Linked DNA regions of Homo sapiens: region 1 is linked to region 2. Evidence: promoter capture Hi-C in human tissues and cell types (Jung and others, 2019). All regions are on one chromosome and are shown on one strand. The core of a region is centred on a gene start or on the middle of the fragment in contact, and the rest is flanking DNA. Distances in the headings are between cores, read along the strand shown.

What was found. Contacts are between HindIII fragments. The study calls those that stand out against the background at their distance.
Region 1: a contact is called between a fragment that was not itself captured here and the fragment with the promoter of ZNF667 in region 2, in 10 of the 25 tissues and cell types used here (H1 embryonic stem cells, IMR-90 fibroblasts, adrenal gland and 7 more).

The regions. Positions count from the first base shown.
Region 1 is chr19:56,522,951-56,530,364 of GRCh38, reverse strand. ZNF471 (zinc finger protein 471) reads right to left here. Exons shown (of 5, transcript NM_020813.4): 5 at 153-6,041. The coding sequence ends at 4,417. Among named protein-coding and RNA genes, the nearest start is that of ZFP28-DT, 12 kb to the left of the region's middle. RefSeq lists an enhancer at 3,518-4,717. The HindIII fragment of the contact is 5,520 bases long and covers 1-5,250 here.
Region 2 is chr19:56,474,536-56,482,335 of GRCh38, reverse strand. ZNF667 (zinc finger protein 667) reads left to right here and starts at 4,991. Exons shown (of 7, transcript NM_001321356.2): 1 at 4,991-5,064. ZNF667-AS1 (ZNF667 antisense RNA 1) reads right to left here and starts at 4,462. Exons shown (of 2, transcript NR_036521.1): 1 at 3,955-4,462. The HindIII fragment of the contact is 11,770 bases long and covers 1,856-7,800 here.

The sequences.
Region 1 (7,414 bases), core at 1,241-3,740, 51 kb before region 2:
ACTCATGGAATAACATGAGAGCAGCTCACCCCGCCCGCTACCAAAAACAAAACAAAACAAAAACAAACAACAGGGAAGGAGTTCTTGTATCTGTGTGCATGGTTTCTATTTGTATTGTAAACAAAAACAACAAATAAGATACTATGAATGCATTTTTTAAGCTTTATAAAGTTTATGTAGTTAATAACGATGTCATCATGTTAGTCATGAAGTTACATCTCAGTTCATAAACTGCAAGACATCTTTGAGTAGAGATCCATCTCATTTTCCGTAACTACACAGTGATCTACTAAACTGATTTTCTGTAACTTAAGTAACCCATAACTTTAATAGCACTAAACATTTTTTCCAAATTTTTCACAATTCTGCAACACATTTGCTTATGCATCTATATTTCTGCACTTGTGCTTTTTGAGAACATAACTGACTAGGTGTAGAATTGTGGCAAAGGGTAATTATATTCAAAATGCTGACAGGTAACACCACATTGCCCTCTAAAATGGCTTTCCTCTAATTTACCCTCTCAATATTTGAAAATACGGTTTCTCACACCTGCGACAATACTGGATATTATCCAAACTTCACATTCACATAAAATTTCTGCTGGTTTGTGTTGGTGGGGATGAGGACTTTTACAATCTGCACTTATCTGATCATTAGTGAGGTTGAGAACTTCTTCTATTTAACCATTTTAATTTCTTCATCCAATAAATTTTGTTGACATGCTCTGCAAGACTGTGCACCTTATCCTTGCTGCTTTCCAACAGCCCTTTTTCAAGGGCTATATCCTTTCTAATGTATGTTTAAGATATCTCTCAGCCTGTCATATGCCTTTTAACTTTGCATACAGTATCTTACGCCATGAAAAAGGTTTAAATCTTCTACACAGTCCTGTCATTCTCTCTTCATGGCTTCTGGACCTTGTCCTGCTTATCAAAGACCTCCTGAACCTAAAGGCACAGAAATACTCTACATTCTCCTCTACCATCTTAACCTCTTACATCTGTAATGAGTATAGAATGAACTTCTGTGTAAGGAGTCAAATGGGATGCTGACTTTATTTCTAGTTGGACAACTGTCAAAGACATTTAATCTCCCCCAATGATACATCGAAAACACTTTTCAAATATAAAAAACCCATGGATACGACCTTCTACAAAACCTCCCTTCTGATTCCTGCCTAATTAACACTCAACATGAATTTCAGAACTGTCAATGTAAAAGTAACTTACAGGATTACAATATTGAAACATTCATGTAGGATCATGTTATGGATCTCCATTTATTCACAGCCTCTGTTCTCCATCAGCAGAGGCTAATAATTTCCTTTTGTATATAACTAAGTAAACTCACCTATAATTTCATTTCTTTCCCCTTGGTTTGATATCAGAGTTGACTTAGCCTCATGAAAGAAGTGGAACATTTTAAGTGTTTTTTTTAAAAAAAATATACTCCAGAACAACTTTACTAGTGGAACAACTTTACTTGGAAGGTTAGAATAAATCTGTGAACCCACATGTTGAAATAGAACTATATTATTCAATTTCTCTTTCTTCAGTTAAACATTAGTGATTTTTTTTTACTTGACTAAATAAAGTCTTGTATATATTCCCCGCAGGAATTCTAATTCTTTTGTTCGTTTTATCCAGAGCTATATAGCCACTTCTTAAAACATGTTCTATTTATCAAGTCATAATTAATTTCCTCACCAACAAGGGAACACAGCCTTAATCATGAGACAGCCGCTGTGATGTCTTATTATAATATTAAATGTTAAGCATACTACATGTGCTAATCACCATCTACCTTAAGATACTGTTTTAAGTCAGGCTGGTTGCCTGTAATTGCAGCCACTTGAGAATGAGGTGGGAGGGTCACTTGAGCACAGGAGTTTGAGACCACCCTGGGCAACATAGAAAGACACCATTTAAAACTTTTTTTTTAGCTTAAAAAAAGATACTGTTTTGGTTCCAAAATTTTTATGACTGCCATACTGCTTTCAAGAATGCACTGTTTAAAAATAATTTACATCAATTCTGGAGAATACTTATCTAACATTTACTAAGCACTTAGTATGAGTTGGTCATTTTGCTAAGCACTTTATGTACATCAAGTATTTTAACTAGAGTTTTAAGAGTAACTTAATTTGCATTTTTGAAAGGTCACTGTGGCTGTAATGTTAACTCGAAAGGGACAAAAGAGGATGAAGTTTTAGAATTCATGGGTATGCAACCCATTGAATGTGAGGACTTTTTTGCTTATCGGAGGTGGTGTATCACTAAAACTATGCACAGACTTTTTTTTTTTCTTAGCTCATCAGCTATTGTTAATGTTAGTGTATTGTATGTGTGGCACAAGACAATTTTTCTTCTTCCAATGTGGCCCAGGGAAGACAAAAGGTTGGACACCTGTGTAATGATTGAAATAGTCCAGGTGAAATGACTGTGTTTTGGACTGGGGAACCAAAAGAAGTGGATAAATTCCAAAAATATTTAGCAGATATATCCACAGGACTTGGTGATGTAGTGGGTGAGGAAGAGCTGGCTGCCTGAAATGAACTCACTAATGAGCAAGGTGTGCATCTTGTCTGAGGACATTTGCACATTCTTTACATTGTTAAGACCGCTCTGCAGTATGAATTCTTCCCTGTAAAGCATTCAATCTGGCTGAAGGTTTTTCTTCTGTATGCTTCACGAAGTTCTCATGCTGTGTTTTTCAGCTCCATCAGGTCATTTATGTTCTTCTCTAAACTGGTTATTCTAGTTAGCAATTCCTCTAACCTTTTTTCAAGGTTCTTAGCTTCCTTGCATTGGGTTAGAACATGCTCCTTTAGCTCAGAGGAGTTTGTTATTTCCCACCTTCTGAAGCCTACTTCTGTCAATTTGTCAAACTCATTCTCTATCCAGTTTTGTTCCCTTGCCGGCAAGGAGTTGTGATCCTTTGGAGGAGAAGAGGCATTCTGGTTTTTGGAATTTTCAGGCTTTTTGCACTGGTTTCTCCTCATCTTCGTGAATTTATCTACCTTTGGTCTTTGATGCTGGTAACCTTCAGATGGGGTTTCTGTGTGGATGTCCTTTGTTGATGTTGATTATATTCCTGTTAGTTTTCCTTCTAACAGTGAGGCCCCTCGGCTGCAGGTCTGCTGGAGTTTGCTGGAGGTCCACTCCAGACCATATCTGCCTGGGTATCACCGGTGGAGGCTGCAGAACAGCAAAGATTGCTGCCTGTTCCTTCCTCTGGAAGCTTTGTCCCAGAGGGGCACCCACCAGATGCCAGCCAGAGCTCTCCTGTATGAGGTGTCTGTGGACCCCTGCTGGGAGGTGTCTCCCCGTCAGGAGGCATGGGGGTCAGGGACCCACTTGAGGAGGCAGTCTGTCCCTTAGCAGAGCTCAAGCGCTGTGCTGGAAGAACTGCTGCTCTCTTCAGAGCTGGCAGGCAGGAATGTTTAAGTCTGCTGAAGCTGTGCCCACAGCCACCCCTTTCCCCCACGTGCTTTGTCCCAGGGAGATGAGGGTTTTATCTGCACTTTTTTCAAAGATGCGCTGCCCAGAGAGGAGGAATCTAGAGAGGCAGTCTGGCTACAGAGGCTTTGCTGAGCTGTGGAGGGCTCTGCTCAGCTGGAACTTCCCCATGGCTTTGTTTACGCTGTGAGGGGAAAACCACCTATTCAAGCTTTGGTAATGGTTGGCGCCCCTCCCCCCACCAAGCTTGATCATCCCAGGTTGACTTCAGACTGCTGTGCTGGCAGGGAGAATTCCAAGCCAGTGGATCTTAGCTTGCTGGGCTCAGTGGGCATGGGAACCACTTGGCTCCCCGGCTTCAGCCCCCTTAACAAGGGAGTAAGCGGTTCTGTTTCACTGGCATTCCAGGTGCCACTGGGCTATCAAAAAAACTCCTACAGCTAGCTCGGTGTCTGCCCGAATGGCCGCCCAGTTTTGTGCTTGAAACCCAGGGCCTTGGTGGCATAGGCACCCAAGGGGGATCTCCTGGTCTGTGGGTTGCGAAGACCATGGGAAAAGCGTAGTATCTGTGCCGGAGTGCACCATTCCTCATGGCACAGTCCCTCATGGCTTCCCTTGGCTAGGGGAGGGAGATCCCCGACTCCTTGCACTTCCCAGGTGAGGTTACGCCCCACCCTGCTTCAGCTCACCCTCCGTGGGCTGCACCCACTGTCTAACCAGTCCCAATGAGATGAGCCAGGTACCTCAGCTGGAAATACAGAAAGCACCCACCTTCTGCGTTGATCTCACTGGGAACTGCAGATCAGAGCTGTTCCTATTCGGCCATCTTGCCAGCCTCCTGGCTGAAGGTTTTTCTACATTTCTTACATTTATATGTTTTTTATCCAGTGGGACATCTCTGATTAACAGTAGGGGATTGGTGATAACTAAAGGCTTGGCCACATGCACTACATTCTTAAGGTTCTTCTCCAGTATGACTTCTTTGATGACAAATTAAGGATAACTTTCTTCTGAACGCCTTCCCACATTCAAAACACTGATAGGGCCTTTGGCCAGTGTGGAGTCTTTGATGCTGAGCACAGGATGAGCTATCACTAAAAGCCTTTCCACATTCAGTACATTTATAGGGTTTCTCTCCAGTATGAATTCTTTGATGTTGAGTAAGATTGGAAGTTTGGCTGAAGGCTTTCCCGCATTCATTACACTCATAAGGTTTCTCTCCTGTATGAGTTTTCTGATGTTGGGCAAGGTGTGATCTCTGTTTGAAAGCATTTCCACATTCAATACATTCATAAGGCTTCTCTCCAGTATGAATTCTCTGATGAGTAGCCAGCTGTGAACTGATTCTAAAAGCTTTTCCACATTCTTTACATTCATAGGGTTTTTCACCAGTATGAATTCTCAAATGACTAACAAGGTGTACATTCTGCCTAAAGGCTTTCCCACATTCCTTGCATTCATACGGTTTCTCTCCAGAATGTACTCTTTGATGCTGAGTGAGTGATGCATGATGGCTAAAATCTTTCCCACATATATCACATTCATAAGGTTTCTCTCCTGTATGAATTCTCTGATGTACAGTACGGGATGAACCCGAGCTGAAGGTTTTTCCACACACACCACATTTGTAAGGTTTCTCTCCTGTATGAATTCTCCTATGCAGAATAAGTCCTATGTGAACACTGAAGGCTTTCCCACAATCAATGCAATTAAAAGGCTTCTCTCCAGTATGATAACTCCTCCAGTGACGAATAAAAGATGTGTTATACCTAAAAGCCTTCCCACACTCAATACATTCATAGGGTCTTTTGCCAGTGTGACATCTCTGATGTCGAGCAAAAGACGAGCCATCACTGAAGGCTTTGCCACATTCTTTACATTCATAGGGTTTCTCTCCAGTATGAATTCTCTGATGCTGAGCAAGGTGTGCAGGCTGTCTGAAGGCTTTTCTGCATTCCTTACATTTATATGGTTTTTCTCCAGTATGAATTCTTTGATGCTGAATAAGGTGTTCACTTTGTTTGAAGGCTTTCCTACATTCTTTACATTCAAAGAGTTTCTCTCCAGTATGTGTTCTGTGATGTTGAGCAAGGTGTTGCCTTTGCTTGAAGGCTTTTCCACATTCCTCACATGCATATGGTTTTTCACCAGTATGAATTCTAAAATGAACAGTAAGGGATGAGCTATGGGTGAAGGTTTTGTCACATTCATTACATTTAAAAAGCTTCTTTCCTACATAGACTTTCTTGTGTTTTATTACCATAGAATTTTTGGAGAAGCTTTTTTTATCTGATGTGTGATTATAAATACTCTCTTCTATGTTTTCCAGATGGATACATTTCCCAAATTTAGTATATTTGAATTCTGTTTCCTTAGTGATGGTTTCTTTATGAGTGATTATTTCTTTCTTGCTAAACATCTCATGACTTCCCATCTGCTTCTCAAAAAGGTCTTCCCATTTCCAATTTTCTTCAAAAGTGGAACACTCAAGTCCATAGCTAGTAATTCCCTCCATGCATGCATCATCATACATGAACTGCTTCAGAGGTAATTCCTGTGTCACATATATAGATTCCCAATCTGAAAGATATTAAAAAAAAGTGAATGTTCCCTTTATCATGGGCTACAACAAAGGAGACATTGTGAAAAAGGTAATTTAAAAATATTTAATAAATCTCACAAAACCTGTTATGTACAGGCATGTCAACTGGAAAACATTCAGGGAGACCCCAAGAAAGACAGCTCATGAAGGAACATGGGAGAGGTGACTAAGAAAGCGAAATGGGCTAGGTGTAGTGGTTTAGGCCTATAATCCCAGCACTTTAGGAGGCTGAGGTGGATTGCTTGAGCCCAGGAGTTCAAGACCAGCCTGGGCAACATGGCAAAACACCATCTCTGCAAAAAACACAAAAATTAGTCAAGCATGGTGGTACATGCCTATATTCCCAGTTACTCAGGAGGCTGAGGTCAGAGGATCACTTGAGCCCAGGAGGTTGAGACTGCAGTGAGCCATGATTGCCCTACTGCACTCCAGCTTAGGCAACAGAGCAAGACCCTGTCTCAAAACAAAAACAAAAACAAAAAACAAAAACAAAAACCTCAATGTAGGATGAAATCCTAGAGAAGTAGTCTGCAATGGTAATATTTCATGCCTGTATTGACCTAACAGACTATAAATTAAGCTCTCTTCATCTACTCTCTTCCACTTGTAATTGGTTTTCATATACAGTTATGTTAACTTTGTTTAAATACCAATATCGTATCACTACTGCTGCTGAAAAGTCTCTGGAGATCTCCAGTAACCATATACCCTATGGCTTGTGATTATCTTAGGATTTAGGTGAAATCCTATGGTTATCTTTTCATAATGTGAAAATGGTGTTCCTATGAAATCATCTACATGTTTCAATACAGCAAACTCTCCAATTCTCAGAGTTCCCTGAACTTTAATCTGCATATTAAGAGATTTTCCCTTTCATCTTACTTTCAACAGCCTGGTAAAATTATCACCTCTTAGACCACCTTTTTATAAAAAAAAAAAAAAAAGAGGGTTTCACTCAGTTGTCCGGGCTGGAGTGCAGTGGCATGATCATGGCTCACTAACTCCTGGGCTTAAGCAATCTTCCCACCTTCTCTTGAGTAGCTAGGATTACAGGTGTGAGCCACTGCACCCAGCACCTTAAGCCACTGCTTAACAGGGTTTTACCATTTCCCCTTTTGAAGAAATGAATTTTATAATGATATGTAGGTTGATATAACTACTATTAATCACATTCTTATTTACTACCACGAGTAACTTTCTTAACTCCTGACCTAGAATATAAGTTTACAGAAGGAATAAATGTGCTTTAAAAATTATTGCAACATCGGCCAGGTGCAATGGCTCATGCCTGTAATCCCAGCACTTTGGGAGGCCAAGGCGGGCATGTCACCTGAGGTCAGAAGTTAGAGAC
Region 2 (7,800 bases), core at 3,742-6,241:
AAAAGGAGCATTTAAAGAAACTGTCATCTCTTGCAGTCAGAGGGCAGGCAGAGCTCAAGTCCGAGCATATGCACTTATTGGAAGAGGTGACTCAGGCTCAATTTCTCAACTACACAAGTCTCCCAAGCCAAAGTTGGACCCTTGATGAGGAAAGAGTTGGCTTTAGGACCGGAGATGGGACATATAAGCAGATGAAGTTGTAGATCTTAAACAGTCATATTCTCTTTAGCCTTATTTTTGCTTTAAGAAGAGTTTCATTCAGTTTCTTGAAAGATAAGGCCCCCCTTCTTTGAAGACCATGCAGAAGCATCATATCAGCTATGTACCTCACAAGATAATGCTTGCCTTCCATAGGAATGTGTATACCATCGAGGCCAGGATTTCAAGACCAACCTGGCTAACATGGTGAAACCCTGTCTCTACTAAAAATACAAAAATTAGCCGGGCATGGTGGCAGGTGCCTGTAATCCCAGCTACTCAGGGGGCTGAGGCAGGAGAATTGCTTGAAAAAAACCTAGATATGACTGTGATTTTAAGACTTTTGCAAAACACAATGCAAATAAGCCAGCACACAACACTGAGTAAATGTTTGTCAAAGGGTAGACAGCAGTGTCTCGTAGTTTCTATAATTTGCTGAATTTATTTTTCATGTGTTCAGTAGATAACTTCAAGATATAAAGAAACCTGGTGCACAACTGGGTTATCGATCGTAAGCATTTGAGCAAAACTACACACCAGGGTTCATGCCTGACCTCAGGGTAGGAGAAGCTCCAGGACTAGTGGGATGTGACTGATAAGTGAAAGGGAGGGAGAGAGAAGCATACATTTGTGACAGCATAAGGAGATTCATTTGCATGTAAGCATCTAGCACGAAAAGATATATGCTGTTTCCTTAACTCTTCAACACCATGCTCTCAAATCCTCTGAAAATATTTCTCCCACAAGAACTTTATTCTGTTGTCACAATTCAGGCCCTTGAAATCCCACAAATAAACTGTATACCTCCCCAGTGATATCCTGACTCAATTCTCTCTGCTTAATCCCTTCAAACAATACTCACAAATATGAGTTCTGCTATGGGCTATGATACAGAAGCTTGTACTAGACAAGTCTTCCTATCATAGCATATGGCAGATGCAACTATGTATGGTAGATCCAACTGTGTATGGTAGACACTGATAGCAATAACTTAAGCATACTCTGAAAATGACCCAGCATGGCAGACGCACCTGAATACATGTTCGGAGTTCCAAATATGACCAACATGGAGATTCATCTTTATCTATGATAAATGCCTGAGTCCCTGGCCTGTCCTGTGGAACGTGGGCCCTATAGGGGATTAAGGCTCTTTGTCTTGGGTTAAATGAGTCCCTGGCCTGTCCTGTGGAACGCTGGCCCTATGGGGGCTGAGGCTCTTTGTCTTGGGTTAAATGAGGGTTGCCATGTGGATGCTGTTAGGAGGAGAGTATTAAGTGAAAATGCTATACAAAGTCCATGCTTTCTGCAGGCGGTGGCAGTTCTCCTGTTCAGCCTACCACCACTGGACCACTCTGTATGTAAGTTCCATCTCACATATAACCTATGCCTCATTTCCTGGATCTGAGTCTCTTCTTCAGCCTCTTGAACCTGGTGCCATCCCTTTTGGAGCTGAAAGAGTTGCAGCATGACACAATAGCATACTACGAAATTAAACTATATCGGGGCAGTTTTGAGGCAGTGGACAAAAGATTCATGTGAGAGGGGAACCTGTTAACAAGCTGAGCCTCTTTATCTCCCCATTCTCTGTCTAGGGATAATTCCTCAACTACAGTGGACAGAGCTGGAATCTGAGCCAAGCGGAGCAGTCATGCTGAGTTCAGGAAGCCTCACTGCTAAATGCCACCTATCAAAGTGGCCTCCCCTGACCATCCTGTGTAAAATAATCCCTCCTTCCTCTCTAGACTTTCTAGCGTCTTTACCCTACTTTTTTTTTTTTTTTTTTTTTTTTTAACAAATTAAATCTTGGGCTGGGCGTGGTGGCTCACGCCTGTAATCCCAGCACTTTGGGAGGCTGAAGCGGGCAGATCACGAAGTCAGGAGAGTGAAACCATCATGGCTAACAAGGTGAAACCCCGTGTCTACTAAAAGTACAAAAAAATTAGCTGGGTGTGGTGATGGACACTCGCAGTCCCAGCTACTCGGGAGGCTGAGGCAGAAGAATGGCCTGAACCCAGGAGGCGGAGCTTGCAGTGAGCAGAGATCACGCCACTGCACTCCAGCCTGGGCGACAGAGCAAGACACTGTCTCAAAAAAAAAAAAAAAAGATTCCAGATACTCTGGAGCTGTCATAGGATCAGGTATTTAATTTATGCCTGTAATTCCCATGGGTTCCTGGGGCAGGGGGGGAAGTGGTGGGGAGTCCTGAGGTGAGAGTGAGGGAAGGTCTGACCAAATCCAAGACCAGGACTAGATTCTGGACCTGGGCTCTGGGACAAACTGTCTTAGAAAACTCATGGGTGTCTTGGGAGATAGTTGCTTTATTCGGAGAATGGGCACAACAGAGCCTGATCAGGAGCCAAGACATCCGACCCACACACTCTGGTTTCTCTGAACTAGGACAGTCTGAGGCATAAAGCTTTTTCCCAGATTTTCGCACTAACATGCCCCTAAAACAGCAGAAAGGATGACATACTTTCTTGGGAGGTGGTTTAAAGAAAACAAAGAAACTGCCAAGTGACAGATTTATCCTAAGATTTCTTGGATCTCTTGACCACACCCCTTATTCTAGTATTACCAGGTATTTAGAACAATCTCCAGTCTAGAAAGAAACTTGCTCCAAGGAACAACTCAGAGAACGGCTTACAGGATTAAAGAAAACCTTAAATGGAAAAATTCACTTTTGACCAGGGACAACAATCAGTAAGTGCTAGCTGCTAGTCACAGAGGTAATGGTAAAAGTCCTAATAGTAGTATCTGTTAGCTTTTATTTTTATTATTGCTACTACCTAATCACAGAAATGGGAAACCAAAACTAGTTCCTCACACATTCTCCCTACTACCTAGTCCCCAAAACTTGCTCAGAGTCACCTGGGAAGAAAGAAATCACAGGCCCTGGGTTCCCCTCACACATATACCCACCTATGCAACTACAAAAACTGGGTCTCAACACACAGGCGGGTACACACACACAGAGTCAAAAACACTGGCTTTCCTTGGCCGGTCGCGGTGGCTCACGCCTGTAATCCCAGCACTTTGGGAGGCCGAGGCGGGCGGATCACGAGGTCAAGAGCCCACATGGTGAAACCCCGAATCTACTAAAAATACAAAAAACTTAGCCGGGCGTGGTGGCGGGCGCCTGTAGTCCCAGCTACTAGGGAGGATGAGGCAGAAGAATGGCTTGAACCTGGAGGCGGAGGTTGCAGTGAGCCGAGATCGCGCCACTGCACTCCAGCCTGGGCGACAGAGCGAGACTCCGTCCCAAATCAATCAATCAATCAATCAATCACTGGCTTCCCACACACACACAACACTCATCCACAAAAACTGGCTACGGCTCGAAACCTTAGTCGGATAGTATTTTAGGCTTTATGGGCCACAAGATCTCTGCTGCAAGTACTGAACCCTGCCATTGTGCAAAAGCAGTCATAGAATAGACGTAAATATACACAAGTATACATATTCAAAATGTGTGGTTCCCCACAGAGACGTACACACCGCAAAAACTGGGCTCTAGAGTCAACAGTAAATAGTTCAGGCTTTGTGGGGCCACACAGTACCTGTTCCCACCTACTCAACTCTGCCCTTCCGCAGAAGTGGATGCAGAAGCTAAACAAATGTCCAGAACATACACACATATTCAAAATCAGTGCCCCCCGCCACGTACAAAACCACAAAAATCGCCTCAGAGACACACGTATAAGAAAACACAAAGGTTCGTCCTCACACATGTTCAGGGTAACACAATGTGGGTCTCACCTACACAAACGCGCGATCAAAACCCGGGACCCGCACGCCCAGATGACCGGGACGAGGCCATACTTCACATCTTCTCTCACAGACTCACAATTACGCAACGGTCACCTCAAACGACTTTATGGCGGACACTCCCGGACCTTCCGCTGTCCGCCCCTCCTCGTCCCTTCTCCCCGCCGGGGTGAGCCTCATCCACCCAGTCTCAACCCCGACGCAGTCAGTCTCACTGCCAGCCCGCCGGCTACGCAGGCGCAACACCGCATGGAACAGCCCCCAGGGCGTGCAGGGGCCGTTGGGAAATGTAGTCCGAGCGCCACGCAAAGGACTGTGGGCCTCTTCGCAAAACGTGCAGGTGAGTCCCCACTGTTGGCCAAAAGAAACATCCCTCCGCTGCTCTCCCGGGTCAGTTCATCTCCGACCCGGACAGAGCAGAACCAGCGCAGCCCAAGCCTTCTTCACCTCACGTTCTGGGTGGGACTTTCCACAGCCTCGCTGCACCCCGGTGGATTCTGGAGGTCGCAGGATGACTGCGTAGTGCGCACGCGCGGGTGGGCGGTGTCCGCCTCCGCGGGTGAGGCCGGCTCCAAACCTCGTGAATGTGGGGGCGAAGGACGCTGGCTGGCTGGAGGCAATAAGCCCTCACACGGGAACGTGTGGTTGTGGGAGCGGGGAAGGCGGCGAATTGGGGAGGTTGGGTTTGGTTAAAGAGCTCGAGGAAGGGCCTCAGTGTCCACACGTGATCTCCTGAGAGGATGAAAAGCAGGGCCAGGCGCCAGTCCCCTAGGAGACCGGTGTGCGTGCCAGCCTCGGGGGTGTGCGCAGGCGCGGGACCTCGCGCGTCCGCCTGCACCAATCGTGCGAACGCGCTTGTGCGTGTGGCGCTGAGGGGTCGGGGCCTCAGGCCGGGGCTGGTGGTACTGTCCCCGAGAGGCGGGTGAGCGCACGCCGCGTGGCCTTGTTTGGGGGCGGGGCCACGCGCCCGCATGCGTGGTGCGTGTGTGAAGGGGGGTGCAGCGCGCGGTCCCGGGGTCCCGGAGGGGAGTGCGCAGGCGCTGAGTCCCTGCTCGGCTGTCTCGGTGGTCGCCGCCGGGGTCTGAGCCCGGGAAGACCGAGGTAAGGGGGCTGGCGAGAGTGTGGGTGTGTCTGAGGGCGTGGGCGGCGCGCCCGCCACTGCGTGGACGTTCCTGCCAAGGCGCGCGTGGGTTTGCGCATCCACGATGGCGTGGGCGTCTGCGCGGGTGCTTGCGTGGGCGGTGGGCTCGCGCCTGCGTGGGTTCTCGGCCCGCCACGGCGTGGGGTTTGCGCCCTTCGCTGCTGTGGTTCTCGGGGCTTGTGCGCCCAAGTGTGAAGTTGGCGCCGCGTGTGAGGCGAGCCGTGTGTGCCTGTGTGTGAGGGAGCTATGTCGGGACCGCGGATGTGTATCGCTGCGTGACCCACGCGAAGGAAACAATGGAGCCATTGGGAAGCCGGGAGTGGGTGTGTGACGCTGACTGTGAAGATTTGTGTTTCTGGAGTGTGTGCGTGTGTCAGTGTCAGGCTGATGTGGGCGTTTATTGTAGCCTTGGGTTACTGTGTGACTTGCCTGGGCGTCTGTCTGCCACTTAGCGTCAGTGGCTTTGCGGTTATGAGTGTGTGACTGTGCCTTTCTGGTGTATATCTCACTGTAACCATGGAAATGGAGGCCCACAGGGGAAGAATTCTTAGCAGCTCTAAGATGTGATGGGCTGCCCTGGAAATCTGTGGAACTGTTTAATTGTGCATGACTTTCCTCCTTGGTAAAATAGCATATTAATAGCACCTGCCTGGGTGTTATTGGGAAGATTAAATGGGATGACGTAGCTGAAACACCCTGCACAGAGCTTGTCACATACTAATCACCGTGTTTAGGTGTTGGTTATGGTGCTGGTGGTCGTTTTTCTTTGACCCTATACAGAGGCAGAGGTAGTGGTGAATACTGGAGGACTTTGCATCTCTGAGCTTCGGACTGGGCTATCTTTGTCCACATACCAGGGCATCTGACCATCTCCAGTTGAGCAGTGGTGCGCTGCCCCCGCCAACCACCTGCGTCGTCAGTTTTCTGCATGTGTACATTTGAGTGGAGGACAGAGCCCTCCACTGACGCTAAGTATGGTTGTGTCCCCTTCCTACCAAGGTAGCTTGGAAAAATAAGAGCATGGACTGTGGCGCCCCGCTGTCTGGTGTTGACTCCTGGTTTCACCACTGGCTGGCTGTGTGACTGAGAGAGCTTACTTAAGTCCACCACTCCTCGGTTCACTTGTAAAACAGTAGTAATAACAGAACCAACCTCAGGTTTATGGTGAGCATAAGTAGAACTTGGCACAAGGAAGTGCCACATCAATGATCATCGTTTTATTATTAGCATAATAACCGCAGGCGTCCCACACCTGGAGAATAAAATCCATAGGTAGAAATGCAAAAGGATGAGCCCCAGAGTAAGGGTTGCAGGTCCAGAGGTAAAATAACTTGGACGTCTAGATCAGGGCTTAGGTTCAGAATTGTGTAGGCAGGGTCCTGGGAGGGCAGCATTAGGGTAGAGGAGGTGGGGTCAGGAACAAAGGATCTTCCTGATGGAGATGTCCCTAGGGAGCCCATGGGGTCAAGAACAGAACTTTGAAGTGTCAGGGACTAAGGGATGTTTCCATATAACACATGGGTCTGGAAATGTTTCTGTCCAGACCAGTGTTTCACAGCCTTGGCACTGTGACATTTGGGGCCAGATAGTTTTTTGTTGGGAGGTGGGAGGGGCTGCTATTCTATGTATTATAGGATGTTGTGCAGCAACCCTGGGCTCTATTTACCAGGCCAGTAGCACACCGCGCCTCCCTCTGGGTTGTGACAAGCGAAAAAAAAATGTCTCCAGACACTGTCAGATGTCCCCTGCAGGGGCAAAATCACTCTGATTGAGAGGACCGTGATGCAAGCGCATGGACAGACCGAAGGCATGATGACAGGGAGAAGAGTAAGGGAGCTGGGGAAGGCGGGGCACGGAGAGATGATAAAAGGATAGTGTTCTGAGATGAGAAGAAACGGCCTGCAGCCCGGGTAAGCTCCGAGATGCATTCATTCATTCAGCCAGTGAGTGCCTACCATGGATTGGGCACTGTGCTAGTCTCTCAACAAAACAGGCAAGGTTTTTACTCAGCTGGAACTTGCATTTAGTAGGAGAGACAAAAATAAAGTCTATAATAGGTGCTGATAGGTACTTTGAAAAGTAAAGCAGGGTAAAGGGATTACAGGGTGTTTGGCAGGTGTTCTTTTTGGAGTCAACATCCAGGTCTCCCATGGGCATTTTGGTCAACTCCAGAGCCAGGAAGGACCACCAGCAGTGACCCTTTGGTATCACTTGATTGGGGAATCTAAGAGTTTGACTTTGATCTTAACCAAAGACTTTTCTCTTCACTGAGGTCTGGACTTCAACAGAAAGAGGTCAGATCTCTAGCCCTGTCCTTGAGACTCTGAGACTCGAACGTTATTCTAAACGATGCCTTCAATGTTACTCTCACCTTGGAATGCTTTATTTAAAAAAAGAAAAAAAAGGGCGGGTCAGACTCAATCCCCAGAGATTCTGATTTAATTGGTCTGGCATAGTGAACTGCCATCAGCTGTGACTATTTATTAGAAAGCTCCCAAGAGACTAATGTACGCACAGGGTTAAGAGCTACAGCTCTGAGTGCCTGCAGCTCAGGCTCCTTTGGGGCCTCTGGGAATGAGATAAATTGATTTGGAGGAGTCAGGGGGAGGATGCAAGTGACCTCTGCTTGGCTATCTTATCAAAAACAGTCCTCACAGCTGCACTTCCCTGCAGTAGGGGTATTCCTAGCCCCATCC